Regions from separate parts of the Homo sapiens genome. Here all the other regions are linked to region 1. Evidence: promoter capture Hi-C in 16 types of primary human blood cells and fetal thymus (Javierre and others, 2016). All regions are on one chromosome and are shown on one strand. Each heading gives the region's core, a stretch centred on a gene start or on the middle of the fragment in contact. The rest is flanking DNA. Distances are from core to core; before and after follow the strand shown.

Region 1 (6,310 bases), core at 2,538-5,037:
ATCACTTTCCAATTAGGCCAAATGCTCTCTAGCCTAAAAGCCCTATCAATATTGCCGTTAACCTCTTACTGCTTCCTTTCACTACAGACATTTCCAAAGACAATGACTGGCTCCATGTCCTCTCCTCCAAGTTATTCTTGACCCTAAAACAATGCGTTTTTCATTACCATACTTTATTTACAATGTATTATGATATATTTTTAAAAATACTTTTTTTCTGAAAAAAAATTACCTACCATTATAAAAGTACATATTAATATAATATGAAAGCCCTCTGTAATCCTACTCTCAGAGAAAGATGTTTTTAACATTTTGGTGTATAGTTCTGCCATATTTTTTCTGTGTATATGCTAACATGTATACTATTAGTTTCAAAAAATCTGAGGTTACATCATATATAATGTTTCACAACTTTATTCATGTACTCTATCTGGGCTATCATTCCATATTAACACATACCATTTGACATCATTCTCAGACAGTTGCAGTCCAGTATATGGATATAATGTGATTTAAGGCTTCCCTTCCTTTTACCGATGAGAATTTGGGTCATTTCTATTGTTTCATGGCAAAAAGACTTTAATAGATGTGTTCATTCCTCATTTTGCATCATCACAGGATTTCATCTTCTTAAAACACACTTCTCTTTGCATCAGTGATAATTTCCTTTCTAGTTCTCCTACTTTAACTGCTCCTTCCCATTCTTCTCTCCTAGCTTATTATCCTTTGGGCAAACATATCTATTCACATGGTTGAAGAATCTTTCCATTCTTCACCTTGCCTCAGCTCTCATTAATATTTTTAAATATTTCCATAAAAGTAGCCCAATGACCCCTCCAAGTTAACAGATGACAAGTGAATTCATCCTATGCCTTTGCAAACATCCTCTGGATCCTCATGTCAGCTAATATAACAACCCAAATAACTCAATCCTCAATCTAAATATCCTGAACTATTCTCTCTCAACCCCTATATTATAAAACCTACAAACTCAATCTCTATTGAATATATATTTACTTCCCCCTTTGTCTTCTTACTGTCTTCTTCAGATAGTTATTCTTGCCTTGGCCATTATAACAGCCTTCCATTTGGTCTCCTACCTCTAATAATTCTGCACATCCAATCCATGATATGAACTATACCAGATATCTTTAACAGGCCTGATCATATTATGAGCCAGCTCAAAAGTATCAAGTGTCCACCTACTAAACCAAACTCAATACCTCTCTCCCAGACTCAAATCTATTTTTCAAGTTCCATTTCCATCTCAACCCTTAGCTCCTGCTCCACTTATAACTTCCAATGTCTCACAGCTTTATTTGGTGTTCTGCAAGCCCAGAAGGCCCATCTCCACTTGTTTCCTTCTGAAAAAATCCAATTAATCATTAGACTTCTAGCTAAAAGATCACCTCCTGTGAATGATTCCCTGGCATTATAAAGAAATGTATATTCTCCTTTTAACACTTGAAACATCTTACCTTGTAACAGTCACAGAGATATTTATCAATCTAAATCATTTAGAAATTGTTATTTTAATTACATACGCAGTTAGTTTTTCTTTATAGATAATCTACTAAAGGACTGGGCAAGATCTGCCAACTGACAAATCAAATGTAGTCTGTTGGGGAAACTGTTGGAATACAAACGCTTTTGCTTCTTAAAAACCACAGTTAAACATTATCTGAACCAAGATTGTATAAGAGGATCCTGTTGACAACTTTAATCGTCAAGAAAAAGTCATACCTTTATAGCTGCTTTTTCATTAGGGAATGTGGCAAAAGCTGTATGTTTCTGAAACAGAGTTAAGGTACAAATTACTTCCAATATAATTTCAGTTTCTCACAAAGAAATCTGACTTTTTACCAGTGGAGTAATGTGACATGTTAATAAAATCACGGGAAAGGATGAAAACTCAAGACCATTTAACTGATTACTAATTTCAGTCCAGTGGTTTTCAATACTTTTTGAGTCAGACTTGAGATGAAAGCTATGCAACCTCTATCATATAAAGACACACGTTTTACACATGCAAATAGTTCAAAAGACCAAAAGTTTAAAGACCTGTTCTACACAGAGGGTCACTTTTAACCAACTAAAAATTTATTTCCTTCATTTATGACAGATCTAAAGATTTTAAACTTTCCTCTATACATAACAATGCGTAGTTTAAAAACATTCACCAACAGAGAAATCGTTCTTCAAGGTGCATATTTCCTTTGTGCTTTATCTTTGTAATAATGTTCAATGGGAGAAGTCTATTTTTAAACATAAATTATACGGATTTTAAAAACCATCAGAAAAGAAACACAAATCAACAGTAAAAGAATCACTATGCTAAGGAAGAGCTCTGGTCAATGCTTATTAAAAGTTACTTTAATAATTATATCGCACATTCTAATTTTGTCTAATCTGATACACGATGACCTGATGTACTTAAATTGAGCCATATATAATTTTTTTTTTTTAATTTGCAGGCATAAGTGACATTTAAACTGATCAAAATTGGTCTTTCTTCTAATTCAGTAACTCTCAACTTGGGCTGCACATTAACATTAAAATCACCTAGGGAAACTTTAAAACCACTGAGTCTTGCACCATCGCTATTCCTATTTTAATGAAGAGAAATCTAAAATATCTTTGGATATAAAGCAAAACAAAGTAATTGTGTAAATTCCTACACAGGTACTCTTAACAGCCCTAAAAAATTGTTCCCTAAAAGATGTCATCGGGAAATTTTTATGAAAAGCCTCTTTTTCTAGTTGAAATTCTGCATTTAATTTACGCAAGTCACCAATGTAGCTTCTCCTCTATTTTAATGAACGATTTAACATTGGCTTATAAATGAAGTAGGACTTTAAAAAATCCCTTGATGCACATTTGTAAGAATACTCTTGAGTCCAGGAGAAATAACCCCAAATTCAAAAAAGTTGTGAGGCTCTCAGGATGGATCCGAAAACTCAATATAACTAAGCTAATTTCCATTCTTCTGCTTTGTCGTTCTCACTTGCCCTTTTCTGCAGTGCTATGACTAATCCAGACTCGAGCCGATTAAAACTCCACTTCGCAGAGCAGATATTTTGATAAAAAAGAGGTAGGATGGGGGAGCTCTCATCACACAAGTCCATCTTCCCCACTCGTTTCCATTTTACTCTTGTCAGCGCTCCCCCTCCCCGGTCACTTCCCAAATGCCTTCCCGGGAGACTCCGGAGGGGCGCGCCCTTACCAGTCGCCCCTTATCTGACAGGACCCGCACAGACTGAGCCCCGAAGTACTTCAGCAAGTCCTCTTTCTCCTCAGCAGTAAGCTCAGCCGGCAGGTGCCTGACCAGAAGGGTTCGGTCGCCCCGAGGCGGGGAAAGCGAGGAGGAGCTCGTGCATCCCCTTGATATCGCAAGCGGCTGCTCGGGAGCTGCCATTTTCCTTGGAGAAGCAAAAACAGAAATCGTGGGAAGAAGTCTCAGTCAAAATCGCGGCATCAACACAAGCTGGGAGAAATATTTTTTCCGCCTCGCGCTAAGGATTCTGGAAACCAGGAAATACCGAGAAAGAAAGTCACCTTCTCGCGAGAACTGCGCCACCGAAAAGCGGCAACCCTTCGAAGACTCTTCGGGGAAGGGCGCGGTGCTAATGATTTAAATTCCAGGGGTCTCCGGAAAGACTTACAAGCAAAAATTGGCCCAGAGATGTGCGAGGGTTAACACAAGTTGTCAATCAAAGAAGGAAACAGGAACCCCAGCCACTTCAGGGAAAGAAGGTTGACGCTCAAGGACAAGAGGACTCACGACTGCGCATGTGCGGGCTGGGACCGTCACAGGGCGGGGCGGGGCGCACGGCGGGGCGGGGCGCACGGCGGGGCGGGGCGCACGGCGGGGCGGGGCGCACGGCGGGGCGGGGCGCACGGCGGGGCGGGGCGCACGGCGGGGCGGGGCGCACGGCGGGGCGGGGCGCACGGCGGGGCGGGGCGCACGGCGGGGCGGGGCGCACGGCGGCGAGCGCTATCTGGAGCTGACCGTGCGGCTCTTAATCCCTGGCCTTGGGAAAGTGAATTGGCCTGAATAGCAAGGAGGAGAACTTGGGTGTGGAAATACCGGGTATGTTCTTACAGTATTTAGATGGTAAAATATAAAGCTAGCCAGTTATTCTGTCAACTCATTAGACACCATTGTAGGGAGGAGAACTCAGTTTAAGGGGCAAAACGTTGAGAGTTCAGACTTTTTTCTTGAATCAGTAGGCATTTAGCAGACGGATAGGCCCCTGCCAGGGTTCATTTCGCAGAAATGGCAGCCTCTAGGGAGAGGTAACCTAATAAATAAATTATTGCATGTGTGTGTATGTGTGTGTGTGTAGGGGTGTGTGTGTGTGTGTGTGTGTATGTGTGTGTGTGTGTAGGTGTAGGTACTTTTCTCCCTATTTTACAGCTGAGGACACTGATGTACAAAGAGGTTAAATCACACAGCTAGAAAGTGGAAGAACTAAGTTTTGACCCTTGGTGTTCTGACTGGGGGTCTACATTCTAATCCACTGTTCTGCCTAGATTCTGAATGGAGTGAGGCAGGGATCATCCCCGGAGGGTCAGGAATGTACCCCTCACCCCATACAGAGAGGGCCTTGAGGATTCTAAAGAGAGGTTTTATGCTAGATGTAGCTGCTACAGTCTGGAGAACCAGAGTTCCTCTTACAGTTCTTTTTGCCACTTAAATAAATGTTAGAGATACAGCAGTAAGCAGTATACCAGCAATCTGCTGTCATCCCGCATTGGTTGGGGAAAAGGAGAGAGACAGATATTAATGAAAACTAGAAGACAAACATGAGAAGAACCTTCCCCACACACCCACCAAAATATCAGATAGGTAGAGCCAGACCACGTAGACGCTGTAGATTTGTTAGGAGCCCTTTTTATTTGAGGAACATTTAGAAACTGACAAATTCTTTAAGTAGGTGTGTGTTGAGGGGAGAGAATCAAAGTTTAGGTATGAAAATTTCTCCGGTTGCAATGCAAAAAACAGAAGCAGAAAGACCAGTTGGACTACTGTAGAAGTCTGGAGAAAAACACTACCATAATAGTTTGGTGAAAGTGGACATGTAGAGAAGGAACTGGAATTGAGATACGTTTTAGAAGTAGTTGATAGGAACTTGCAGATGAAGAATAGTAAGCAAGGATAAATTCTGGATTTTTGGCTTAAGCTAGATATTATCCATCTGTAGATGATGATGCCATTTACTGAATGTGAGAAGATTGACCAAGTATAGCTAGGTTAGAAACTGTAGTGGGACATTGGGAATAGAGGAACATATATTAAGTTTAAGGTATCTATTCAGTATCCCTGTTTCAAGTAGGAAGTTGAATGTGTGTGTTTGGCATTCTTGGGAAAGGTTACCACGAGGTATGGCATCAACCTATATGGTATTTATATCTGAAGAATGACAAAGGGTATAGATAGAATTGTGCCCATAATGGAGTCATGGGACATGCAGATGTTGAGAAGTTGAGGCAAGGAAGAAGAAGAAGACAATCAATTCCTGCCCTCTCAATGCTTACTTTCTAAAATCAAGACAGAATAAATATGTAAATAAAGTTCTTTTCAGAGAATAATAAGTGCTTTGGAAAAAATAGGGTAGTGTTATAAACCGATTGGAGTGGTCATGCTATTTTAAACACTATCCTTCAGCGGCTTTTTTGTGTGTGTTCTTTGAAGACTTGTTTGGAGCTTCTAGCAAGGGAGCACTGCTACACGTATGCCCTTACAGAAAAATCATCCTCCTTTATGGGGGTAAGTCATCCTCCTCAGCCGAGTGGGCAGCTTTGGAAGAGACATATATGGGGCAGTTAGGAAGGAAGGGGAACCCAGCTAGTTAGCCAGATCAGCCAAATCAACTGTTGGGATCAGTTGGTGACAGGTGTCATGCAAAATGACCGTCACATCCTCCCTGTGACTCTTATGTTTAGTAAAATGTTCCAGACATAGTGCACATTCTGTAAATATCTATTCAATGAATGAATGCATGAAGGAATTCACTTTTATATTTACCACTGCCTCCTACGGTTAGGAATTACTACAGGGGCTATCAGGCAGAGTTTAATGGTCATTATCTACTGTAATTCAGGTATCATGACTGAGTGGAATAGTTACATGACAGAATTTTATTTTCTCTCTACTTAATTGCTTTTAGTTGTACTCAATGAAATCTACCTTATCCTTTCCTTGACAATATCTCAGGTAGAGGTCATAATTTTCTAGTCACTTTCAGTTGCTATCAGTACAGTTGGTTAGAGATGTCAAGTCCAAACTCCATTAAGGTGTCTCTTCTTA
Region 2 (6,310 bases), core at 2,549-5,048, 3.7 Mb after region 1:
AATAAATAAATAAATACAAGAAAAGAAAAGAAAGGGAAGAAGGAAGGAAAGAAGGAAGGAGGGAGGGAGGGAGGAAGGGAGGAAGGAAGGGAGGGAGGGAGGGAGGGAGGGAGGGAGGGAGGGAGGAAGGAAGGGAGGGAGGGAGGAAGGAAGGAAGGGATGTTATATTTTCTTTCTGTAGCCCAATAGATATATCAGCGCATACCCCAAGGGATACATAGCCACTCTGTAGACCTCTAATGCAAATCACTGAAACTAAAATTTTTATATACAGTAAATGAAACATCAGAGAGCCTACAGTAGGTCAGATTCCATGACTCAGTTTGCTAAAATTAGCTGAGGTCATAGCAGTACATGGTGTGGCTATCTTATTCCTCATACTAATGCTAGGATACTTAACTTGCATTAGCCATGTCTCTCTTGTAGGCAACTAGCATAATGAGTGATTAAACTATTATTGTAAATAAATATGTTCTATCTTTTCCCCTCCACTCAATTTATAGAAACTCAGTCTTCTAATCAAAGAACCTTTATGTCTAAATATTTTCTTTAAAAAATAGTAAAAATTATAAATTTCATCAACCTACTTAAAAGATGGAAGAATTTCAGATTTGGGAAGTACTTATTTTGTTCATTATTCTTTTTTTTTTTTGAGACCGAGTCTCGCTCTGTTGCCCAGGCTGGAGTACAGTGGTGTGATCTTGGCTCACTGCAACCTCTGCCTCCTGGGTTCAAGCGATTCTCCTGCCTTAGCCTCCTGAATAGCTGGGACTACAGGTGCATGTCACCACATCTGGCTAATTTTTGTATTTTTGGTAGAGATGGGGTTTCACCATGTTGGCCAGGCTGGTCTTGAACTCCTGATCTCAGGTCAACTACCCGCCTCGGCCTCCCAAAGTGCCGGGATTACAGGAGTAAGCCACCGTGCTCGGCCTGATTTTATTCATTATTCTACCACTAAATGAGATAGGAAATAAGCGAAAAAGCTATGATTTGTCTAGAAAAGATCATTATTTATTCTTGTACTTGTTGAACTGGAAGAATCTATAGAAATATCAGTCTTAAAAACGAGGAGGAATTCCTTCTTGTAGAAAAGAGAGAAGGAAAGAAATATGAGGGCTTTGATGACCAATTAAATATGAAACAGCCAAAAACTGCCAGAGTTTTTCCTCACATTTGATTGGTTACCAAGTCCTCTGAACTTGAAAATAACTCATACTTTGTCCTCTCTTTTTCTTTTTTCTTTTTTTTTGAGTCGGAGTCTCGCTCTGTTGCCCGGGCTGGAGTGCATTGGCACGATCTTGGCTTACTGAAACCTCCGCATCCTGGATTCAAGCAATTCTCCTGCCTCAGCCTCCCAAGTAGCTGGGATTACAGGCACCCGCCAGCACGCCTGGCTAATTTTTATATTTTTAGGAGAGACAGGGTTTCACCATGTTGGCCAGGCAGGTCTCAAACTCCTGAACTCAGGTGATCCGCCTGCCTTGGCCTCCCAAAGTGCCAAGATTACAGGTGTGAGCCACCGCGCCTGGCCTTGTCCTCTCTTTTTCAACTCAGGCTGTTCAATCCTTTTCTTTAATCAGATGTGTTTTTAAAATAGCCTTCTCAATGCTTCTTGTCTCCAATGTCCCTTCTCTACCACTCTTCCACTCATCTTTCACATTTCAAATTATCTTTTTTTTTTTTTTTGAGACGGCATCTTGCTCTGTCACCCAGGCTGGAGTGCAGTGGCGCAATCTCAGCTCACTGCAAGCTCCGCCTCCTGGGTTCACGCCTTTCTCCTGCCTCAGCCTCCCGAGTAGCTGGGACTAGAGGCGCCCGCCACCAGGCCCGGCTAATTTTTTTTGTATTTTTAGTAGAGACGGGGTTTCACTATGTTAGCCAGGATAGTCTCGATCTCCTGACCTCGTGATCCGCCCGCCTCGGCCTCCCAAAGTGCTAGGATTACAGGCGTGAGCCACCGCACCCGGCTTCAAATTATCTTCTAAAACAAAATGATCACACCATTACTGCAAAAAAAGGTGGCACATTCTCATTTATAACATTTGGATACATTTACCGGTTTTAACCAGAGTTATAAAGTCAACCACATCATTCTTTTTTCATAAATCCTTCAATTTCCCTCTTCAAATAGGTTAGCTTTTACAATTTTTGCTAGTTTTAACTAGAGTTCTAGTAATCAATCAGCAGTACACTGCACTAAGTTTGTAAGGCTGTCCCTATCCTCACAGATTTTATTTTATTTTTTATTTTTTTTTAAGATAGAGTTTTGCTCTTGTTGCCCAGGCTGGAGTGCAATGGTGTGATCTCAGCTCACTGCAACCTCTGCATCCCAGGTTCAAGCGATTCTCCTGCCTCAGCCTCCCAGGTAGCTGGGATTATAGGCATGCGCCACCACGCCTGGCTAATTTTTGTATTTTTAGTAGAGAAGGGGTTTCACCATGTTGATCAGGCTGGATGGTCTCAAAATCCTGACCTGGGGTGACCCACATGCCTCGGCCTCCCAAAGTGCTGGGATTATAGGTGTGAGCCACTGCGCCCGGCCCTTTATTTTTGTTTTTTAAAGACAGGGTCTCACTCTGTCACCCAGGCTGGAGTGCAATGGTGGGATCATAGCTCACTACAGCCTTTAACTCCTGGGCTCAAGAGATCCTCCAGCCTCAACCTCCTAGGTAGCTGGGGACCACAGGCAAGCACCATCATGCCCAGCTAATTTTGTTTCTTTTTTGTGGAGATAAAGTCTTACTATGTTGTCCAGGCTGACCATGAACTCCTGGCCTCAAGTGGTCCTCCAGCCTCAGCCTCCCAAAGCACTGAGATTACAAGTGTGAGTCACCTGCCCTCATCAATTCTCACAGATTTTAAACCCTAGTCTGACACTGTAAGACTAACAAGCCTTTAGACACTGCTTCATTATTCAGCACTTAATAGTTCTGTGCTCATTGTGTAATTGGAAATCAAAGGAAGCAGACAGTGAAAAATTAGGGAAAGACTTCACAAAGGAGGTGATATTCTAGCTGAAAGTTGAAACTTAGGCAACACATAGACTGACAGTAAATGAGATTTAACAGATATAAAGGAATCTGATGGGAGTACGGGTATAAGGACAGGCATGAGAAAACCTGCTGAGAAGGGAATTAACAGGAATGACTTGGGCAACTGTAAAGATCTATGACATTAATGATGGAGAATGAGATACAATCTTGGCTAAGGAAGGTGTAGTCTCATTACAGAATGTCTTAGAAGTCAGACAGAGGTATTTAAATTTGATTTTATACATACCACTTAATAACAAAGGGAAGAGACTGCATAAGATTATTCTGGCATCTATATTCAGCCATACAGAATAGACAGGCAATCAGAGATATTTGGAAAGAAACTGCAAGCTTAAAAAGAGACTGCAGGAAAAGAGAAGAAATCATCAAAGAATATAAGGTTTCTACCCTGGGAACTATAAAAATGGAGATGCCACGAAATAAACAGGGAAGCTGAGAAATAAAGGATCGAGAATGGGCAGGGGATATTTTTGGACATGCTAGATTTAAGCATATCCAAGTTGAGCTATCCTAATACTATTCTATTGCATAATATCAGGTTGAAGCCAAGGTCCAGGGTGGGAATACATGGAGTGATTCATATCAATGCCTTATATTTATTTAGGGCTTTATCACAAAAAATTCATGTATTATTAATTTTGAGTCTCAAAACCTAGAAAGGTAGAAGAACAGAAATTACCACTTTCATCTCACCAATAAATAAATTAATGCTCAGAATTGGGGCCATGCCCGGTGGCTTATGCTTGTAATCCCAGTACTTTCAGAGGCCAAAGAGGGAGGGTTGCTTGAGTCCAGGAGTTCAATATCAACCTGGGCAACATAGTGAGACCCAGTTTCTACAAAAAAAAAAAAAAAAAAAATTAGCGGGGCATAGTGATGTATGCCTGCAGTCCCAGCTACTTGGGAGGCTGAGGCAGGAGAACTGCTTGAGCCCAGGAAGTTGAGGCAGCACTGAGCCATGATCATGCCACAACACTCAGCTTGGGCAACAGAGTAAGACCCTGTCTCAGAAAAAGAGAAAAGGAAAAAAAAAAAAAAAAAAAAAGAAATGAATGCTCAGAATTAATGTAACTTGCCCCAAGTCAGCTTGTTAGCAGCAGAGCCAGGAGAATTCTGGCTCTAGATCTACCCGTCATCAAATGCTGAAAGCTTCCAAGAAGAAGAAAGCTCAAGGCTTTTCCTCCAAAAGTAGTCATTAGCACAGAGGCAACAGTTGAGGCCATGAGACTGTGTAACTAATTCTTTGAAGGAGAACAGAAAAAGAATTCCTAGCAGATACCCATAATTAATTAAAAAGTGAAAGGAAGAGAGCCTAGTAAGAGACACCAAGTTGACAAGAATATGCAACAGGGGAGGGGGAAAAAAAAATCAAAACCAGAAAAGTGCAGAGTCAGGAAAGCCAAAAATGGAGTAGGTACTCAGTGATTTTAAATGCCAAAGTTGGAAAAAGGCGCGGATTTGGCATGAAGATATCACATTGTATGTGTGAAATTTTTTTCAAAAATTTAATTCTTAAAACATTAGCGAAATTTAAAAATTCCTTTGAAATGTTTATGACTAGCAACATCCATTTGGTACATTAATAAGGGGGACTGGATTTTTCATATATTACACTTCTTCAATGTTGAAAAATTACAAAGGCTAAGAAAATAAAACATCTATTAACTAGCCTTGTAGAAAAGTAATTTGATCTTTTAAATACAGATCAACTATATATAGTTCAACATAACCAGATGAGTTATTGCACTTTTTATTTGCTAAGAAAATATTTTCAGCTTTTACCTACTCCACATTTGAGAAGTTTTTGATATACATAAACAATAGTTTACTATACTTTTTGCTGCAATCTATTTTGTCAATTCAAAGGTTCAACAAAGGAAAAGAGACAGTTATACAAAGGCAAAACTACATGCATACCCAAAGCAAAATTACATATGAAGTAATTTACCAAGTTTTAATAGTAAATGTTATTAGAAATAATATGGGCAATCTTCTGATCATATATTTAACTTCAATCTTAAGTGGGAATTAGTACGCAGAGAAAAGAGAACTATTTTATCCTTATCCTAACACGAGGGATATAAAATATTTTTAATTCAAATCAACATTAATTAGTGATATATGGAGAACACAGCACCATCTTTGCACAAATCAAGTTTTAGACCCTTGGAAATAATATTTATCTTAGAGCTTTAAAACATTTAACAGGACTGCCAATGAATTAAAAGTTTAAAAGACGCAAATGAGCAAATCAAAACAACTTGCTACTGACCTTGTTCAAGTCTGAAGAGGGTCTTTTCCAGTTTCTCCATTTCGTTCAGAAGTAAAATTCGAATCTGTTTACTGTGTCCCATTTTGGCTTCTAGAGGATTTGAAATCTTTCATAAGAATTAAAAGAACTCCACAGTCGAATGAGTTACCCCTATGAAACAAAAAGGAGTTAAAATATCGAAAATAACTATTGCCTTAAACTCTCCAGAGCTGACAGCGGCACTTACATGTTCGAAGTGTGTTTTATGCCTAGCAGAGCAATGAAAGAGAATGAATCTTATAACTATTAAGATTCGAGAAGGCAAATTAATAGTTGTTTCCTGCCTTTGAGCACAACGAATAAGACCGAAATAAAAATGCTGTATTACAGATTCTTACAATTAAAAAATTAAAAACCTAGACCATTCTCAGAGAAAAGCAATACACTTAGGAAAGCCTGAAGTCAGGGGGACATTCCCAGCCCCAAGCCACAGGGCTCTGGAGACTCCGAATGGCACTTCTGCTTACAAGAGATTAGTCTGCTCAAAGATAACAGGTGGGCAATCTCCCCATTCCCAAATTCGGGTCGCCAGCCACCAATGGGGAGATGAGAACAGAGGGAAGCAGTTGTTGCCTCTGGAATAGCTGCCGTAGACAGAAGATGTACAGAGCGAGCTATAGATAGAAAGAATGCGTTTCCCCGCGAGGCCAGCGGCATTCCTAGCACTTACGCCGAGGGAGTTATACGTGCGGCTTCTGGGGCACTGCAGGACCCGCGACTCTGGTGCTACGGTCGGGGGGAGGGGACGGGGAGAAACAGAAGGGGAAGGGCTGGCTGCCCAGCCTCGCACAGAAGCCGCAGCCCAAGGAGGGCCGGGCGCCGTGAAGGGCAAAGGGAGGGGCGGCGAGCGACCGGGGCAGCGCCGAGGCAGCTGGGTGAGAAGCAGGCAGAGTCTCAGCGACTTCGCCTCGCGCGGGTTCCTGGGCGCACCCGGTACCCAACC
Region 3 (6,310 bases), core at 3,811-6,310, 3.4 Mb after region 1:
TGAAATGAATTGCCATTATTCAGTTATTAGATAGTGTGGTGTAGGTGAAAGATCTGAGTTTTCATTTGGGCTCTGTAATGTGACCTTAAACCATTATTTGGGCCTTAAGTTCTTCTTTTGTAAAATAAATAATATTTACTTATCAAGATTATTGTTAAATAAGATGATATATGTAGAATACCTGGCAGGTACTCAGTAGTGTTGGTAACCCTTCCCTCCCCTCTCATGGAGCCCTAAAATGCAATCAGAAGCAAATCTAGCAAAAAGTCATTAATCTCATCTCAATTTGAGGACAGAGACCATGGTTTTTTTTGTTTTGTTTTGTTTGTGTCATCCTATGTTCAAAAATTATTATTTTTTTTTTTTTAGAGAGAGGCTGTCACTCTGTTGCCCAGGCTAGAGTGTTGTGTCATAATCATGGCTTACTGTAATCTCAAACTCTTGGTCTTAAGCTCTCCTGCTTCAGCTTCCAGAGTACATGAAACTACAGGCATGCACCACCATGCCTGGCTCATTTTATAAATTTTTTGTAGAGATAGGATTTTGCTATGTTGCCCATGCTGGTCTTGAACTCTTGGCCTCAGGTGATCCACCCACCTCAGCCTCCCAAAGTGCTGGGATTACAGATGTGAGCCACTGTGCCAAGCCCCTGGACCATGTTTATTTCTGTTTGTATCCCTAGCACCTGGCACAATACCTGGCTTAAAGTACCTTTTATTTGTTTGATTGATAGTTTAAGAGCACAGCTACTGGGTGTCAGAGATGGCCTAGAATCCAGTTGTGCTAAAGCAAGCCTGATGTTTAGAATACTTTTTATTTAGAAGAACTCATAACTAAATCTAATGTCATTAGTATTAGACATCTATTGAGTACGACATCTATTGAGATGAGAAATAACATTTTATTGAGTTTTTATTGTTTTATATTGCTCTTATGACATTAACCATTATAAGGGAAAAAATAAGATTTGTGATTTTAGTTAGCGTATCCTCTGAAAGCTTGTATTTTTCTACAGCATATTTCTAGGGATGTTTTTTAACTAAGCATGGGGAATTCGTTTAACTTACAGGCCTTCCGTTTTTTCTTTCAACATCTAATGTATATAGGCATTTGGAATATATGCAACAATATCATTAATATGATTGGTAAATTGTCATAGTAATATAACTCTTCCAGGATTATGTAAAGAACACTTTGATAAGTGAATTCTTCTTGTACTTTTTGCAAATATATGAAGTATGACAGGACTTTTAAAACCGTAAAACACCGTCTAGGTGCAGTGGCCCACGCCTGTACTGCTATCACTTTGGGAGGCTGAGGTGGGCAGATCACTTGAGGTCAGGAGTTTGAGACCAGTCTGGCCAACATGGTGAAACCCCATCTCTACTAAAAATACGAAAATTAGCCAGGTGTGGTGTTGTGCCCCTGTAAACTCAGCTACTCAGGAGACTGAGGCAGGAGAATCGTTTGAACCTGGGAGGCGGAGGTTGCAGTGAGCCAAGATCGCACCATTGCACTCCAGACTGGGTGACAGAGCGAAACTCTGTCTCAAAAATAAATAAATAAATAAATAATTAAAATAAAAATAAACTGTAAAGCACCATAAAAAGTTAAATACCAACTGCAGTATCATACCACTATGGCATTTATACTAGAGAAAACTTCAGAAGATGAAAACCAAACATAATGATGTAGAGCTAAAAAGGTTTTCACAAACCTTCTAGTTGAATCCACTTATCTTACAAGTTCGGAAACTGAGTCCCCCCCTCCCCCACCCCACCACGAAAGCTTAATCTTGCTGTGTTGCCCAGACTGGACTTGAACCCCTGGGCTCAAGCTATCCTCCTGCCTCAGCCTCTGAAGTAGCCAGCACTACAGGTGGGAGGCACTGTGCCCAGCTCAGGAAAGCTTAAATGGAATTGGAGTAACACTCTAATCTGTTTCACATATGTTGCTTTAGATACTAGAAAAATAGCAACAGTGTATTCTCTTGTTTTGAAAATAATTCTTCCTCTCTCTGGTGTAAACCAGTGCTTCTTGTTCCTTTTCAGAAAACAGATACAAGTTATGAGGTAACATTTAACCTTATTGTACAAACGGAGATTTAGCATCCAATCATATGTTCAACAAGAAACTTAACTAAAATGACACATTTTAAACCCATATAAAATTACAAGTCAGCATTAAAAAATCTAAACAATTGAATCTAGCCTTGATCAACTGTTTCCAAGTTTTCCTATCAGTACTCAATTGCTGTTTATACTTTTTACTTGTGTAGTAGATAAGCAATAGTGTGGAAAAGGTTTAAAAGAAGTCCTTAGAAGAAAAACTTAAAATTGAACAAATTCTATTTGTTAGTTTACTTTTTTCTACCTGCACATCAAAGAAAGGCCATTGTTATTTAATTCTGGCAGAATAGTTTGAGAAGTACTTGTGCATAGGTATTTTTTACTAATTTCTCCCTTTATTTTCTGAATTATATAAGCATTTGTGCTCTATTTGATTAATGTTTATGAGCACTTTCACCTATATACCTCTGTCCAATTCTGGATTCTCTAAGATACAGCATAGGATGTGGAACACTGTGGTCTCTCCCTCTCAGGGCTTAAAGTTACTTTACTCAAGGATAAAATAGGTGTAATAAACTTGTTGATAATACTTCTGTGGTTTTATTACATAAAGAATATATTAAGCAGATTTAATTCGTGGATGTGAAAATACGTTTTTGTATGAATAAATGTAGGGAATATGTTATTTCCTTGATTTTAAACATTCAAAGCATTCTAATATCGCTTCACATATTAAGTTTTTATTTTATTTTATTTTATTTTTTGAGACAGGGTCTCTGTTGCCCAGGCTGGTGTGCAGTGGTGCAGTATTGGCTCACTGCAGCCTCTGCCTACCAGGTTCCGCATTTCTCCAACCTCAGCCTCCCAAATAGCTGGGACTACAGGTGGGTGCCACCACGCCTGGCTTGTTTTTGTATTTTTTGTAGAGATGAGGTTTTGCCGTGTTAACAGGCTGGTCTCCAACTCTTGACCTCAAGTGATCTGCCTGCTTCAGCCACCCAAAGTGCCAGGATTACAGGTGTGAGCCACTGCGACGGGCCACATACTAAGTTTTTAAAATGCAATCAGTCTCTCATTAATCAGTTTGATTACATGACATGGTAATTTTTTAATGTGAAAAGTTGTTACTAAATTGGTGGTTTGTCTTTCTAGATGTTATTTTAGAATCAGGGCAGTAAGGGTATATGAGGTTCTTACCTCATTTAATCCTCAAAACATCCCCATTTTACAGTTGAAAAGTTACTAAATTGATGGTTTGTCTTTCAATAGATGTTACTTTACAATCAGGGCCGCAAAGTCATATATCAGGCTAGTGCTAGGCACTCCACAGTGTTTATTTCATTTAATCCTCACGATATCCCCATTTTACAGGTGAGAAAAATTTAGTTTTAGGTTAAACACTGCTAGATTACTCACTAGTGGAACAAGAAGAAATTAAGCTTCAAATCCGGTGTGCTTTTCAAACTTCTGTTCATAAGTTAGAGAACACCTGTGGAAAGTCTTGTCACTTAAGACTGAAAACTTAATACAAATGATAGTGATAACTCATTTCGTGTGAATGTTTCTGATGGTTGGGTATGTCTTTTCCTACAGGAGAGTAAGTATAAGAATGAGCATTGAACTACAATCAGTTTCTAATCCAGTTCACAGAAAGGTTGGTATTTAGTCCTTTTTTGAAATATCATTTCGGTACATTGTAGACAATTAGTTTTGTTCTTTAAGAATGTGACATCTTTTATTGCATTTATTTTGCTTTTACATTTTAGGCTATTTTGCAACTGTTGGAAATCAAGGGTGGTGGAATCTACTGAGACAACAACTGAAGGATAATTATACTATATATTTCTTTTTTTTTTTTTTTTTTTTGAGATGGAGTCTTGCTCTGTCACCAGGCTGGAGTGCAGTGGCACGATCTCGGCTCACTCACCTCCCGGGTTCAAACAATTCTCCTGCCTCAGCCTCCCAAGTAGCTGGGACTACAGGCATGCACCACCACGCCCAGCTAATTTTTGTATTTTTAGTAGAGACGGGGTTTCACCATGTTGGCCAGGATGGTCTCGATCTCTTGACCTTGTGATCTGCCCACCTCGGCCTCCCAAAGTGCTGAGATTACAGGCTTGAACCACTGTGCCCGGCCTATACCATATATTTCTAAAACATACGTGAAAAATTGTGGGGTGGGGTGACATTCTCCTTAGATTTGCCCAGTGCACTTAGAAGTTGCATATTATATATATATAATAACATATATATAAAAATATATTTTATTGCTGTTGGTCATACACACACACACACACACACACACACACACACTGCTGCCTTGTAGAATTGGCATTTCATGGTATAAATGTAAAAACAATAAACCGAAGTACTGCAGGGAGATATTTGTGAATCTTTTACTTTACGTTTTGAAGAGAGGCATTTAGAGTATCAGTCTCATATAACCTTCAAAAGTGTGAGTCATTAACAGAACTAAGGATATAGAATAGAGGAGGGGTCCCCAACCCCCTGGCCACTTACTGGTACGGTCTGTGGCCTGTTAGGAGCCAGGCTGCACAGCAGGAGGTGAGTGGCAGGCAGGGAAGCGAGTGTAACCTCCTACGATCCACCTCCTGTCAGATCAGTGGTGGCATTAGAGTCTCATAGGAGTGCAAACCCTATTGTGAACTGTACATGCAAGGGATCTCAGCTGTATGCTCCTTATGAGAATCTAATGGCTGATCTGAGGTGGAAGTTTCATCCTGAAACCATCCTTCACTCCCTAATTCTTGGAAAAATGTCTTCTACAAAACTGGTTTCTAGTGCCAAAAAGGTTGGGGGCCACTGGAACAGAGAACTAAGAAATACGGCATCTGTGCCAAGGGCAGTGCCTCACACCTGTAATCCCAGCACTTTGGGAGGCTGAAGTAGGCAGATTGCTTGAGCCAGGAGTTTGAAACCAGTGTAGGCAACATGGTGAAATCCCATCTCTACAAAAAAATACACAAATTAGCTGAATGTGGTGGCACACTCCTGTAGTTCCATCTACTTGAGAGGCTGAGGTGGAAGGATCACTTGAGACTGGGAGGTTGAGGCTGCAGTGAGCTGTGAGGGTGCCACTGCAACCTAGACTGGGCGACAGAGCGAGACCCCATGTCAAAAAACACTGAAATATAGCATCTGTTTTCTGTGTGCCATAGCTTTCCCTGAACACATTCAAGGACCTAGTAGTATTAATAGTACCTTTGGTTTTTTAAGTAGCATCCTGGGTGAATTTCAGGAAGTACTTAAATAGAAGCTGCTTAAGAACAAGGCATTCTGAGGCAGAGCAGGTGCCTAAATTACTAATTTTCCAGAGTAGAGATGATATATTATACTTCTTACATGTTATTCCTTATGCCTGCTGTACCTCTTCATTTTCTAGCTTGGTGCATAAGTGGTTTAGATTTTTCTAGGATCTTAGCATTTCCTCAGTAGACATGAGTAGAGATTTTATTTCAAATGAATTCTTAACCTTAATGCCCAGTTCTTTATTAGTTTTACATCATCTTGTAACTAATGCTGTTTTTCTTTCACCAGTGTTCTCTGGTACATAATTTTGGTGTACTTTTTGTGAGCTCTAGCTGTTATGATGGTCTCCCACACTATGTACACGTAGCTACCTGGAAAGTGATCTTTATGAAAGGTACTTACTTCATTTGAGACTGAAAACAGTTGGGCTTCCATATCAGTGGCCACCTGGCCTAGGAGAGAATAGGCTCTTTGGAAGAAGCCTGGCAACGTGTTACCTGATACCCTGGTCTTCTGAGAGACAGAAGCTCTTTTTTCTAGTGTGGATTATTGTCAGTTCTGCTGATATATTTGCCACTTTTGAAATGCCATACCAGTTAACTTTAAGGAAACTAAAAATAAAATTGAATGTGGTATGTTCAGTGGTAAAGAAAATTTTCATCATGTTATGGTGTAGCAAGGACTGGGTCTAAATTTCCCCAAGCCTCTGATAGGAGGATATTCCTAAACTTTCAACTCCTAGCACTTGCTTAACTTTTACAGACCTCCATGTGGCTTTTAAAGAGCGGAATGTCTACCCCTATTTAAGATTCTAACTCTCTAAAGACTAATAAAAAACCAGCAGCACTAGAAAACAAAGCTGTCTGCAATATAACTATGATACACTGATGTTGTTGGATTTCTTTACTTCTGAGAAGAAATTACTCAAAAGGCCAGATCTAGTAAAAACATTTAAAAACAACAAACTTTCT
Region 4 (6,310 bases), core at 2,655-5,154, 3.4 Mb after region 1:
AAAATGTCCACATATAAGTCAAATTCTCAGATTGGCCCTTGTTACAATCAATCACTACCTCTTGAACTTAAGAAATAAAAAATATTAAATAAAATCAAAGGAAGATAAATTTCCAAAATTAATACAAACAGAAATACGCTAATTATGTGTTGACATGTTATGTATGTTTCAGATCACCAAGTCAACGGTTCAACTACTTTACCAATCTCCATAAATACGGATGGATAATATAATTCAAGATGCCCTTCTAAAGAGGATTACTTTGGTGAATTCTCTAATGTTTGGATTTCTGAAGTAAAAAGAAAAGCTATTACCAAAGTTTAATGAGGCCACAGCATTTTTTAAAGTTCATATTATTTGCTATTTAAAGTATATATTTTTTTGATATAAAAATATAATTAAAAAATTTTTTTTGGTGGAAGACAGATGATGCTCAAATTTCTTTTCCATTAAGCAGTTGTTTCTGGTGATGAAGAATGATTTGGTAAAGCAGTTAACAAAACATTTTCCAAAGACACCAGAGGGTCTGTATAGTACTGCAAAGCAGGACTGAATCCCTTCTGCTGCAAATACTGGATTCGACCTTGGTCAATCAGCAATTTACAAAGATGCCCTATTTTCTTCTTTTCTTCAACACTAAGAAGCCTAAATTGAATAAACACACACAAAACATTGTTAAAATTTTGCAAAAGTTTATAAAAAATTATTTTTGTCACTATTTATTGAGAGACTGTTAACTAACCCATAATGTACTAAGTACTTTGTCCCATGCTTCCAAGACACATTATATTTATGACCACAATAAAAGATGTGTATATTTTAGCTTATTCTAAAATTAGATTATAAAATACATTTTCATGAATTGTTGATAATAGTCATCTAAAGTACAGTACAATATAATATTTCTCCTTTAGTATCATGCATTACAAAAGTAGTCTCTTACCCAGGCAAACAATCAGCGCCATCATCTGTGATTCTGTATCCTCCATCATCATGCTCTTCACTATCATCATTCTGATTATCTTGCCTCTTTGTGGTACTATTTGAGGTTTCCAAAGATGTTTTCCGCATCCCACAAGTTGCCCAACTACTCATTCGCTGGAAATAATGGAATTCCACTGCTCCAAGGCCTAGAGCCCTGAAATATTCTTTGCCCACATAATGTCTCCAATCACACCTGTGGTGACAACAGAGTGCAATAACAATGCCAGCCACAGGGTTCCACTTCTCTGGGACATTTTTTTCATTTCCTTCCTTGGCCAAAGTGTAAATTTCTTTTTCTGTTTTATCATTCTTTATGCGTTTGGCTAAAGGTTCTTCATTCCTTTCCTCAAAACTGGCAGCATAGGTTTCAACCAAACATCGTAATGCAAGATCTGCAAACACAATTATGTGGCCCCCCCAAACCACATCATCTTTAAAAATAAATACTTTTTACATTTATTAAGCAGTACTGTTTTTAAAAACTCAACAATAAAAACAGCAAAAACCTACTCAGCTTTATATTTGTAATAATACTATCATGAATTATCAACTTCATTCAAATTTGCTCTTCTATCTTCTCAATTTCTTTAATGATTTATTCTGCATAAAGCCTACTTCCCAATAAAGCTATCTGAAGCTTAAGATCTACAATTTGAAGAACTTTTACCCAACTACCTGAATTGTCTCTCACTTTTCCTACCTTAGCTGAGGAAATGACTTGTATGGGAAAACTTTATTCACCTACACTTACATTCTAGTTTAAGAAAGGAAAAATGAAGGAAGGAAGGAAGGGAGGGAGGAAGGGCAGACAAATCTGTTTAGGTTGATGCTAGGTCAAGATGCTTGTCTTGAAGAGGCTCATAGCAAATAGTGATGAACTGAAGAGTTGAAAAGAGGGCGTCAGAACAGAATCTGGAAAGCAGGCCTCACTGAGTAGCCTTACTGTATTTATTCATTTATTTAACAAACATTTACTGAATGCCTTTCATGTGCAAAGCACTGAGGATACAATTATTAATATACACAAACTTAAGAGGCAGATGTACTCCACATTACAATGAAAATATTTTAGTATATTTTAAAACTAAATAAATGGATTTTTGATGACTATGGCTATTTCCCATCGAAAACTCCTACACTGTTGACAATACTGGAAAGACCCAAAATGTAGGACCCATATCTTCTTAATCATTAGATTGTCATGTTGTGTCTGTTCAATCAAAAACATATACATATTTTAAAATTTTATTACCCTAAGATATCACAAATGACTATTAAATGATCTGATATTTCACTAGTAAATTTAATTCAATATATGAATTTAAGTCAACAAACATTAGAAACCCATTATTTGCAGAAAGTGATAGCTAATCTATTATTTCATAAACTATTATTTTCTGACAAAATACATTTAGTCATTGTTTTATTCATATTTGACTTAAGTAAGTGATTTTCAGAAATGTGAATAACCAGATAAATTATTAAAAGAATTAAGTTATTTCAGGCCAGGCGCAGTAGCTCACGCCGGCTGAGGTGGGCAGATCACGAGGTCAGGAGATGGAGACCTTCCTGGCTAACACGGTGAAATCCCGTCTCTACTAAAAATACAAAAATTAGCCGGGCGTGGTGGCACGAGTCTGTAGTCCCAGCAATTCGGGAGGCTGAGGCAGGAGAATCGCTTGAAGCCGGGAGGCGGAGGTTGCAGTGAGCCGAGATTGCGCCACTGCACTCCAGTCTGGGCGACAGAGCGAGACTCCGTCTCGAAGAAAAAAAAAAAAGAATTAAGTTATTTCAGAATTAGAAGGAGCTTTAGCAATTTATCTCAATTCATCTTTTATAAAGAACTTAAAAGACAAAGCCACATATGCAGAAAGGGACAAGGAAACACAGCAAATTGGTAGCCAAGATTATTCATTCATTCAAATATTCACTGTGTTCCTGTTATATAGCAAGCATCGTACTAAGTATATACCATATACTCAAAAAATTCAGAGCATGGTGGAAGAATTAGATATATAAACAGATAATTAAAATACCACAAGGTAAAAATATGCAGAGGGTATTATGATAACACCAAGGAGGCATATCTTATTTAAGGGAGCTCCCTGAGAGTGGTGACAACTGAGGTGAAGGATGAGTAAAAATTGACCAGTTGTTTTGTTTGGGTGAGTAGGTGAATGGGGGTGAAATTCCAGATATAGTAGAAATAGTACAGTCTATGGAAAAGCACACAGGGTTTGATGTTGCTGAACAGCAAAGTAGGAGACAGGGAATGTAAAGAGAGGAAGGCTGAAGCCAGATTGAGACTAAAACGTTATGTCAAAGAGTTTGGACTATATCAGGAAGTACCGAAGAGTTTAAAGGGAAAGACACATTAGTTGTGTAGCAGATGGGTCTGAGATTGATTGACCGATTGAGATAGGGTCTTGCTCTGTCACCCAGGCTGCAGTGCAGTGGTGCTATCCCAGTTGACTGCAGACTCAGACTCTTAGGCTCAAGTGATCCTCCCACCTCAGCCTCCTGAATAGCTGGGACTACATGCACAAGCTATCGTGCCCAACAAATTTCTGTAGAGATGGGGTCTTCCTATGTGCCCAAGCTAATCCTGAACTCCTAGCCTCAAGCAATCATCTCACCTCAGCCTCCAGTGTTGGGTTTCCAGGCATAAGCCACTGTGCCTGGCCTGAATATTAGTATTTTAAGGACAGAAGTGGAAGGAGACTGTGAAATAAACAGAAGAATGGCATAGATGTAGGGGAAGAACCAGGAAATAAGAGTATCGCAAAAGAGAAGAAAATGGAATTTCAAAAAGGGTAAGCAACTGCAGCAGAGACAAAAGGAGGATTCAGATACAGTGAATCAAGGGAAAAAATTATGTGGAACATGAGAAATGGCCACTGTAGGTCAAAAGAGTGTACTCCCTCCTACCCCCGGGATGGAACTGGTTTACTTTAGAAGACTTTTATGAGGCTTAAATGAGATAAGGTATGCAAAAGTACAGTCATGCATTGCTTAACTATTGGTGTATGTTTTGGGAAATGCATTAGGCGATTTCATCATTGTAGGAACATCAGAGTGTACTACACAAACCTAGATGGTGTAGTGTAGCCTACTACACACCTAGGGTGTATGGCACAGCCTATTGCTCCTAAGCTACAAACCTGTACAGCATGTTACTGAATACTGTAGGCAACTGTAACACAATGGTATTTGTGTATCTAAATACAAAAAAGGTACAGTAAAAATATGGTATAATTTTATAGGACCACTGTCATATATGAGTCCATTGTTGACCAAATCATCGTTATGTTGTACATGACTATAGTCTTAAAAACTATGAAGGCCAACACAAATATATAGTACTCAATGCCATTTCCAGCCAATATGAATAATATCTATGGATGCTCCAAGTAATCCATATGGGTAGATGATGAAACTAGCAAAAGTTAGGAAGATGATGTAACAATAATTAACATTTATTGAGCACTATTATGTGCCAGACACTTTACATGCAACCCGGTAAATTATTAATATATTAGTATCTCTGTTTTATAGATGAGGTAACCAAAGCTCAGAAAGGTTAAGTAATTTGACAAGGTTACACAACAAAGCTGAAGGCTAGACTATCTGATTCTAAAGCACATGCTGTTTCCACTTTACCATGCTAGATCTGATGGATCAAAGTGCTAAGACAAGACATCTTAGATTTTTTTTTTTTGTCTAACATTTATTTTTTTCTTTTTCCCCAGAATCCTGAAACACAATAGTCTTTTAGTAGAAGAGGTTTCTGAGTTCTTTCTAAGCAACTACTCTAAAAAATCAGTAGCTTCTAGGTGGAATCATACAGTTTCCATAAATGGTCTTATTTTCCTTTTCTGGTTGAAATTTAACCCAAAGAACTTTAAGGTCTAATGTGATGCAGTATTTACATACAAAACTCTTAATTCATCCTGCAAAATGGCCAATATGAGCAGATAAATAGGAAAGCTATGCATCTAATAAAGCACAGGGCCAGTGCTCTATAAAGATTATTGAGTTGTAAACATAAGATATCTATTCAAAAGAGACCACTGAAATGGTTGGGGCCAGGTTAGGCCAAAACTTAATGCATTAATGTAAACATTATCAGTATGTTTACGTACCTGTTGCCATACCACACAGATGCTTTCCAATTCCTACCACAGGTAGTTTTTCTTCTCTTAGCACAGGAATCTTGTCTGAAATGGAAATGAGAATTAACTGTCTAGTGAAATAAAGTACATATTAATGTGGCCTTCCAAAAGAAAGAACTAATTAGAGTCTCTGAATTTTAGCCTGAAAGAGACTCAAACAAAAATTATCACTTTATGGAACCCAACATATAACATAAGAACTTGTTTAGGGTTCATAACATCAGAAAGTTAATATATTCAGCTAAATAATTTTAAATACATTGATTTCTATACAAATGCTGGGTTGCTTTTCATGGCTGGATTAAAATTGGTGAATGGAAGAGGTTGCAAAGATATGTTTGCATTATTTTCTTTGGATAATCTGAAAAATAGAAAAGGTATAAAAAGGGCACTACAGAGGTTGATTGAGGAGTTTGTGTGTGTATGTGTCTGTGTGTGTTTTGTGTATGGAATATGAATCCCACAGTGATGACTTCTTTTGTACAATTTAAAATTCTAGGAAGTATCTTTTACACATTAGCTAGGCAGAGAAATATCTCATTTTCTTTCATGGTTTAGGTAAAGTCACGTTAACTGCAGGCAGAAGGCTAGTTTATAGTTTGAACAGACTCAAAATTAATTTAAACAGGACAAAGAAACAACAGAAGTACATATTATAAAACTTTTAAACTCTTCCCTAATATAACACTTCATTTCCACTTGATACTGAAAATTTTTAAAATTCTCAACCTTAATTCAATTTACATCTATTTAAAAACATTATATAAAACATTCTATATTAACAATGAATTGATTTGACTGTTTTCCCTGAAGCACAGTTCTGCATGATTGGATTTCTAAGCAACCTCAGAGTTTAAAACAGTTATGATTTATTTGTAGACCAATGGAAAGTTACACAACTTACTCAAACACAAGTGTTGAATATCAATTTGAAGTCTTTCAAACACTGAATTTTTCTTTCTGTGTTTTCCATCCACCTGCACAAACAGAACATTATTGTAATAATCACTTCTTACATTTAAAAAAGCTTTATGAAAATAAAAAGATTTTTATTGGTTTTCAAAATTCAGAGCAACAGAACATATTTAAAAATTAAGATTGTACATTCTTTGATGAGAACTTCAAAATATCACACTTTTTAAAAAAGATTTGAA
Region 5 (6,310 bases), core at 992-3,491, 3.2 Mb after region 1:
ACTAGAATACTATCCGCACCCCTCCAGTCAGATGATAAAGTTTCTGTATGAGACGTGATTATTATGGCTGAACTCATAATGATCACATTTTAAAAAGGTCCTAACTGCATAACAAATACCAACCTCAGATGAGGGCACTAGTCTGAGTTTTTGCTCAAGCCCTTTAGCATAACCACCCACAGTCACACTGATGCCAACTTCTTGGGGAAGAGTTGCTGCACATCTAACAAGCTTCCCACACACACAGCAGTCTGATGCAGAACTAAAGATCACTGGGTGCCAAAAGGTTCCAGTCCCAATTTGGTCACTCAGTGTCCCTAATCTGGTGTCGTAGCCTCTCTGGGACTCCACGTCCTCATCTATCAAATGAAGCCACTGAATTAGATGGCTCCTAAAGTTCTTTCCAGCTCTTATGTAATATCATATATCACAGTTCTAGCCGCTATATAGACTCTACAGAGTCTATGACTCTAGTTATCCTTATTGGACAAACCCATTCAACTGTTCAAATGTTTCTCAAGGTCTACTTGCCCTATTTGATGTTCTCTGTTCTGTCTGTCCTCTCAGTGCATTGGGTCTGGGTACAGAAAACATTTCCCTCAGAGTGTCTCCTCTTTGAGGAAGGAAAAGAACACAACTTTTTCCATGAAATTCACTGTTTTCTGCACAGCCAGAAAGCAAACCCACAGACTACAAAGCAGCTACATGTATTAGGAAACTTATCATCTTTATTACTTACTTGTCTGCAAAAAGTCTGACATTTGTTGAGATCATAAAGGAAGGAGAGAACCCCAATATCAACTATCAATCCTGTCCCTTGATGCATTGTCTAGATTTCTAAGAAAGTTCAGGTTTACAACACCAGAGGGTGAGGAACCATTCTCCACTTATTACCTTCTTAACCCGAGGTAAATACTGGTCAGGTCAGGTGTCAGCTGCTGTTTCTGTAAAATAAGTGAGTGCTTTCACTTTGCCTTAAAGCCAAACAACAGACCAGATGGTATCAAGAAACCTTCCAGTATCAGGGTCTGTAATTCTAACATCCCTCGTTAGAGAAGGTCAGTTAATAAAAACTCCCTTAGAGACTCAGATTAACGAAAACAAAAGGAGACTTCTTCAGGAATGCACTGGGAAAATTAAAATTCACTCCCACAGAAATATTCTCAAGCAGTGTAAATTAACTCCATTATTCAATGGCTAGTACTGAAGGCAGGAGAGCTATACAGACAGTATATGCAAAGCTTTGTTAGAAAACAGAATGATGAGCGATTCCCCCATACATAAAAGGCTAACCCTCAGATTTCATAAAGTGGCTGAGGCTCTCAAAAGGAAAATAATTACTCTAAAATTTGTGGTGAGGATCACAGGGCCGGGGGCAACGGCTCCGCCTGTAATCCCAGCACTTTGGGAGGCCGAGGCGGGCGGATCACGAGGTCAAGAGATTGAGACCATCCTGGCCAACATGGTGAAACCCTGTCTCTATTAAAAAAAAAAATACAAAAATTAGCTGGGTGTGGTGGCATGCACCTGTAGTCCCAGCTACTTGGGAGTCTGAGGCAAGAGAATCGCTTGAACCTGGGAGGCAGAGGTTGCAGTGAGCCGACATCGGGCCACTGCACTCCAGCCTGGCAACAGAGCGAGACTCCATCTCAAAAATAAAAAATTAAAAAAAAAAAAGATGATCATCCATAATGATGAAGTCTGTGTATGACAGAAAAAAAGTAAATTGTGATCAATAAATTTTTTTTTTGTGACAGGGTCTTGATCTGCCACCTAGGCTGAGTGCTGTGGCATGCTCATGGTTCACTGAAGCCTCGACCTCCTAAGCTCAAGTGATCCTCCCACCTCAGCCTCCAGAGTAGCTAGGACTACAGCCATGTGGAACATGCCTGGCTAATTTTTGTATTTTTTGTAGAGACAGGGTTTCAGCATGTTGCTCGAGCAATCTGCCCACCTTGGCCTCCCAAAGCGTGGAATTAGAAGCGTGAGCCACTATGCCTGGCCAGTAAATTCTTTAAGAAGGCAGAAATGTATATTCATTTTAGAAAGGTTTCCGTAAATTATTCAAATTATAAAACTTTGATATTTCAGAATGTAATTTTCCAATTCTCTGTAGAAGCTGTCTCACTGAAATGCCACATATCCAGATACACAAAACTGAATAAATGCATTACTAAAGTACATCAATCATGGGGACCAAATTTGAAATAAACTACCTTTTCCAGTTCTCAAAAGAAAATTAAATTTTATAAAAAAAAAAAAAGAGAAGTCTAAACTGGCAAATTCTTCAATTTGTCACTAGGATGTGAAAATATTTAAGACCAAAAAATTAAATTAACAATAAAGGAAATATCTTATTCAAATTTATAGTTTACACAAATTATTTCTTATAAAGGAATTCACTGTCAACAACAAATAATTGTGATCATTTACCAGATGTTTTTGATATACGAGTTAAAAAGAAATTACTTAGGCAGGTACTGAGGGTTCGGGAGCCCTCGGTAAGGGTTTCCTTTTAATGAAAAGCAGCCCTAAAATCATTTTCTCTTTTAACAAACAGCAGCCTGTAAAAGAGAGCTGCACACGTAAACAAGCAAGCTGGAAACTTGCACAGGTGAATGTCGGCAGTTGTGCCAGTAGGAATACTACTACCTGGGACTAGGCATGTTCAAAATGGCAGCTCCATCTTCTCTTTTTGCCAGCCACATGTACAGTGAGGAGCAGACAAGACGGCACTGGCCGAGTGGAAAGTCCATTTGCATAATAAGATTAGGGTGGGGTGATCAGCCTTCCCCACCCACTACGTAAACGTCACACCTGGTTGAACCAATCTGCGGGCCCTATGTAAATCAGACACCGCTTCCTCAAGCCAGACTATAAAACCTGTTGCGGTCAGCTGCAGGCCCGCTTTTCCCTTTGGACTCCTCTGTCTCACAAGAGAGGGAGAGCTACTCTCTCCTCTGTCCTTTCTTCTGCCTATTAAAGTCTCTGCTCCTTAACCCACTCACGTGTACCTATTGTTAATCTTCGATGAGATGAAGAACCCCGGGTATTTACCCCAGGCAACAATGCTGCTTCATTTTCAAGTTGTCAAGAACTGGGGATGTTACATATTTTTAATAAATAGAGCAATATTTTTGATGACTCTCAATCCACATAAAATTCTTTGGTGCTCCTGGAAGTATTTCGTTGATTAAAACAAACCAATATATTTTTTAAGTAAATTGAAACTAAAGCTTTAAAAAGAATTATTCACAGCTCTACTTTGCTTCAGTAATGTGAATTGGAACAACTTAAAATGACAAGACATAGGAAACAACCAAAATGACCAAAGAGAGAAAAATGTTCAATACAGTATGGTATATCCTTTCCCCGAAATATTATTAATATAGAGACATTTATGGTGATTTTGAAAAATGGCATTGGTTTACAATGCTCATGTATGATTAAAAAAATCAGCATTTAAAACTGCATATACAAAATTATGCCAATTAAAAATTTATAGCACTGTAGGTTTGAATTTCTTCATTGTAGAAAAGCAATATTCTTTGAAAAATTAAAAAAAATATTTCTAAGACACAATGAATTTCACAATTCAGTATAAAAAATTCAGCTCAAATCACAAAGCCAGAAAGGAACTTGAGATCAGTTGTGCCACTTACCTCCCCACATTTTAAATATCCAGGACAGACACGGTCTATTTTCCGCTTAAAGATCACAAAAGACAAAGACTCCATTATAATGACCCCCTTTTTACTTCCTATCTCCAATCCTCAAAACAAAACAGAATAGCAAAAAGGCAGTTTCCTTCTGATTTACGTACCTCACCTACTTAAAGGTGTCCCTCTCTCCCAGTCACCCAAGCCAGAAACTTTGAATTCACCTTTGCTTCCTCCTCCCTACCCGCATCTGCTCAGTCCCAAATCCAGTCAACCAATTCTTTCCAGCCTCTCCCCATCTGGCCTTTCTTTCCCCACTGCTGCAACCCTAATCCAATTCTTCCATAGCCTAACTGACCCCACCTTCGAGCGATGGCAGCACTCGTCCTAAAGTAGAGCCCTGGTCACTCTCTGCCATTTACAAGCAAGCACAATTTACTGACATCCAAACAGTTTTCCACAATCCAGTCCCCAACTAAGTGACTGCTGCTGTGACCTGTGACTCCTCTCCATTCAAATATTATTACACCTCCTCTAACAGAATCTTGCTATTCCCAAACACCTCTTGTGCCTTTTCTCAGGACTCTGCCTGAAATCTTTTTCTTTCCTTTCTTCCTCATTCACTTACTCACTCATTCATTCATTCAACTAAAATTTCTTGAGCCCCATATCTATGCCAGGCACAGTGCTAGGTGTTGGGACATAATGGTGAGCAAAAACAGGTAGTACTGGTCCTCACAGAGATCATAAAATGTACTCTTTGCTATTATACACCCTTCAAAAACTAGCTCAGTGCTTATCACCCTGGGTAGCAATAATCTCTTCCTTTCTTGAACTCCTAACACATACATTTGCAGCTTTGGTCATGTATTATCCTGTACTGCATGTGTTTCTACTTCCTTCTTTACAAATACATATCTCCAAAGCATTAGTACAGTGTTCTGCATCAAAATCTATCCCATCTAAATACTAAGTTTCTTGTATAGCAATTTTCAACCACTTATGAAAGTTTTAAGTTATGCTTTTCACTTCCCATAAAAATGTGTCAAGAGTTTTGTGAGGCTTGTGTTTTAGTTTTTAGTTTTTTTGTTTTTTGTTTTTTGTTGTTTTTTTTTTTTTAAGCACAAAGGGGTATTGAGCTGTGGCTAAGTAAAAGTCATTTACTTCTGGCTTGGGAATGTGTTTATGAACTTACAAATGAGAACATCTGATGTCTTAGGAATCTACTTCAAACAAAATAATGAAGCCGCCCTGTGGTGACCTGGCACAGAAAGAACTTGGAAGGCTGACAGCTCCCCACTGGGATCTCCTGCAGCCCACTTGGAGCTCTCTCTCAGGCTGCATGATTATGACTAGCCCTGTTAAGATAACTCTCCTTAGCACCTCGGCTACATTTTTTGTTTTCACAGCCTTATCTCAAGCAAACTGAAAAAACAGAGTAATAATTTATCATTATGAAGATTAGAGATCAACTCTACACCGAATGCCTAAGAGGTCAAAACAGCAGATATTTAAATAAATCATTATCTAGAAGGTAAATTTGATTCCCCTGGATTACAGAATTAAGAACTGTGGGCCAGGCACGGTGGCTCACACCTGTAATCCCAGCACTTTGGGAGGCCGAGGCAGGCAGATCACTTAAGGCCAGGAGTTCGAGACCAGCCTGGTCAACATGGTGAAACCCTGTCTCTACAAAAAAATACAAAAATTAGCAAGGCATGGTGGCATGCACCCATAATCCCAGCTATTCGGGAGGCTGAGGTGGGAGAATTGCTTGAACCCCGGAGGTGGAGGTTGCAGTGAGCCGAGATTGCCCCACTGCACTCCAGTCTGGGTGACAGAGCAAGACCCTGTTTCAAAAAAAAAAAAAGAACTAACTATGAATGTACACAGATATATCTACTTCCTCTTAACATATACTACATCATAACACTGGCTGTCATGTGTTCAAAACAGAAGGTGAAAAAGGCTAGGCACAGTGGCTCATGCCTGTAATCCTAGCACTTTGGGAGGCCGAGGCAGGCAGATCACGAGGTCAGGAGATCAAGACCACCCGGCCAACATGGTGAAACCTCGTCTCTACTAAAAATACAAAAAAAAAAAAAAAAAATAGCTGGGTGTGGTGGTGCGCGCCTGTAATCCCAGCTACTCAGGAGGCTGAGGCACGAGAATCGGTTGAACCCAGGAGGCGGAGGTTACAGTGAGCTGAGATCGCACCACTGCACTCCAGCCTGGCAACAGAAGGAAACTCCAACTCAAAAAAAAAAAAAAAAAGAAGAAGGTGAAAAAAAGCAGCCCTGAACAATATTACTTTTCCAAGGTTTGGATGAAGAGAAGAAAAAGGGGGGAAGAAACTATAAACTACCATCTTTTAGAAAGTAAACAGTTTTCTGAGGGTTTTTTTTGGAGAATACCTTAAAAAAAAAAATCACCTTAAGTTACACCAGGTAAGCAGCCAGAACATTTCACCAGACAGCCTACAAAAGCAGTTATCATAGGCTTATAAAAACTGGGCTTCTTTCGTTTTCACGTGTCCTACAATTAACTCAATTTCTTTCCTCTCTTTCTTTTTGGTAGTGCACTGATAGGAAAAAAAAGGCAAAATTATACCCCCCAAAAGTGAAATTACAAAGAAAAATGTTTAAATTACC

What was found. Contacts are between HindIII fragments. The CHiCAGO score rates a contact against its expected background, and 5 or more counts as called.
Region 2: a contact is called between a fragment that was not itself captured here and the fragment with the promoter of RNPC3 in region 1, in 1 of 17 cell types (total B cells). The highest score is 5.7, in total B cells.
Region 3: a fragment that was not itself captured here is called in contact with the fragment with the promoter of RNPC3 in region 1 in 2 of 17 cell types (naive CD8 T cells and naive B cells); the score reaches 6.2 in naive CD8 T cells.
Region 4: a fragment that was not itself captured here is called in contact with the fragment with the promoter of RNPC3 in region 1 in 1 of 17 cell types (naive CD8 T cells); the score reaches 6.3 in naive CD8 T cells.
Region 5: a fragment that was not itself captured here is called in contact with the fragment with the promoter of RNPC3 in region 1 in 2 of 17 cell types (total B cells and fetal thymus); the score reaches 7.2 in total B cells.

What each region holds. Positions count from the first base shown.
Region 1 is chr1:103,523,176-103,529,485 of GRCh38, reverse strand. It overlaps RNPC3 (RNA binding region (RNP1, RRM) containing 3), which reads right to left and starts at 3,787. Exons shown (of 15, transcript NM_017619.4): 1 at 3,224-3,787; 2 at 1,744-1,791. The coding sequence starts at 3,415. RNPC3-DT (RNPC3 divergent transcript) reads left to right here and starts at 3,978. Exons shown (of 4, transcript NR_168321.1): 1 at 3,978-4,090. It also overlaps the pseudogene RN7SKP285. RefSeq lists an enhancer at 3,336-3,575 and a silencer at 3,896-3,995. The HindIII fragment of the contact is 7,657 bases long and covers 1-6,310 here.
Region 2 is chr1:99,850,143-99,856,452 of GRCh38, reverse strand. It overlaps AGL (amylo-alpha-1,6-glucosidase and 4-alpha-glucanotransferase), which reads right to left and starts at 6,092. Exons shown (of 34, transcript NM_000642.3): 1 at 6,038-6,092; 2 at 5,329-5,478. The coding sequence starts at 5,410. RefSeq lists enhancers at 4,998-5,971, 5,972-6,310 and a silencer at 6,122-6,310. The HindIII fragment of the contact is 819 bases long and covers 3,389-4,207 here.
Region 3 is chr1:100,123,295-100,129,604 of GRCh38, reverse strand. SASS6 (SAS-6 centriolar assembly protein) reads left to right here. Exons shown (of 17, transcript NM_194292.3): 2 at 3,663-3,723. Among named protein-coding and RNA genes, the nearest start is that of SASS6, 6.5 kb to the left of the region's middle. The HindIII fragment of the contact is 3,099 bases long and covers 3,511-6,310 here.
Region 4 is chr1:100,142,960-100,149,269 of GRCh38, reverse strand. TRMT13 (tRNA methyltransferase 13) reads right to left here. Exons shown (of 11, transcript NM_019083.3): 8 at 6,061-6,133; 9 at 5,127-5,201; 10 at 944-1,376; 11 at 1-645. The coding sequence ends at 450. It overlaps LRRC39 (leucine rich repeat containing 39), which reads left to right. Exons shown (of 10, transcript NM_144620.4): 10 at 173-822. The coding sequence ends at 228. Among named protein-coding and RNA genes, the nearest start is that of TRMT13, 13 kb to the right of the region's middle. The HindIII fragment of the contact is 4,562 bases long and covers 1,624-6,185 here.
Region 5 is chr1:100,359,568-100,365,877 of GRCh38, reverse strand. The region is part of intron 2 of CDC14A (cell division cycle 14A); the gene reads right to left. Among named protein-coding and RNA genes, the nearest start is that of CDC14A, 10 kb to the right of the region's middle. The HindIII fragment of the contact is 1,995 bases long and covers 1,244-3,238 here.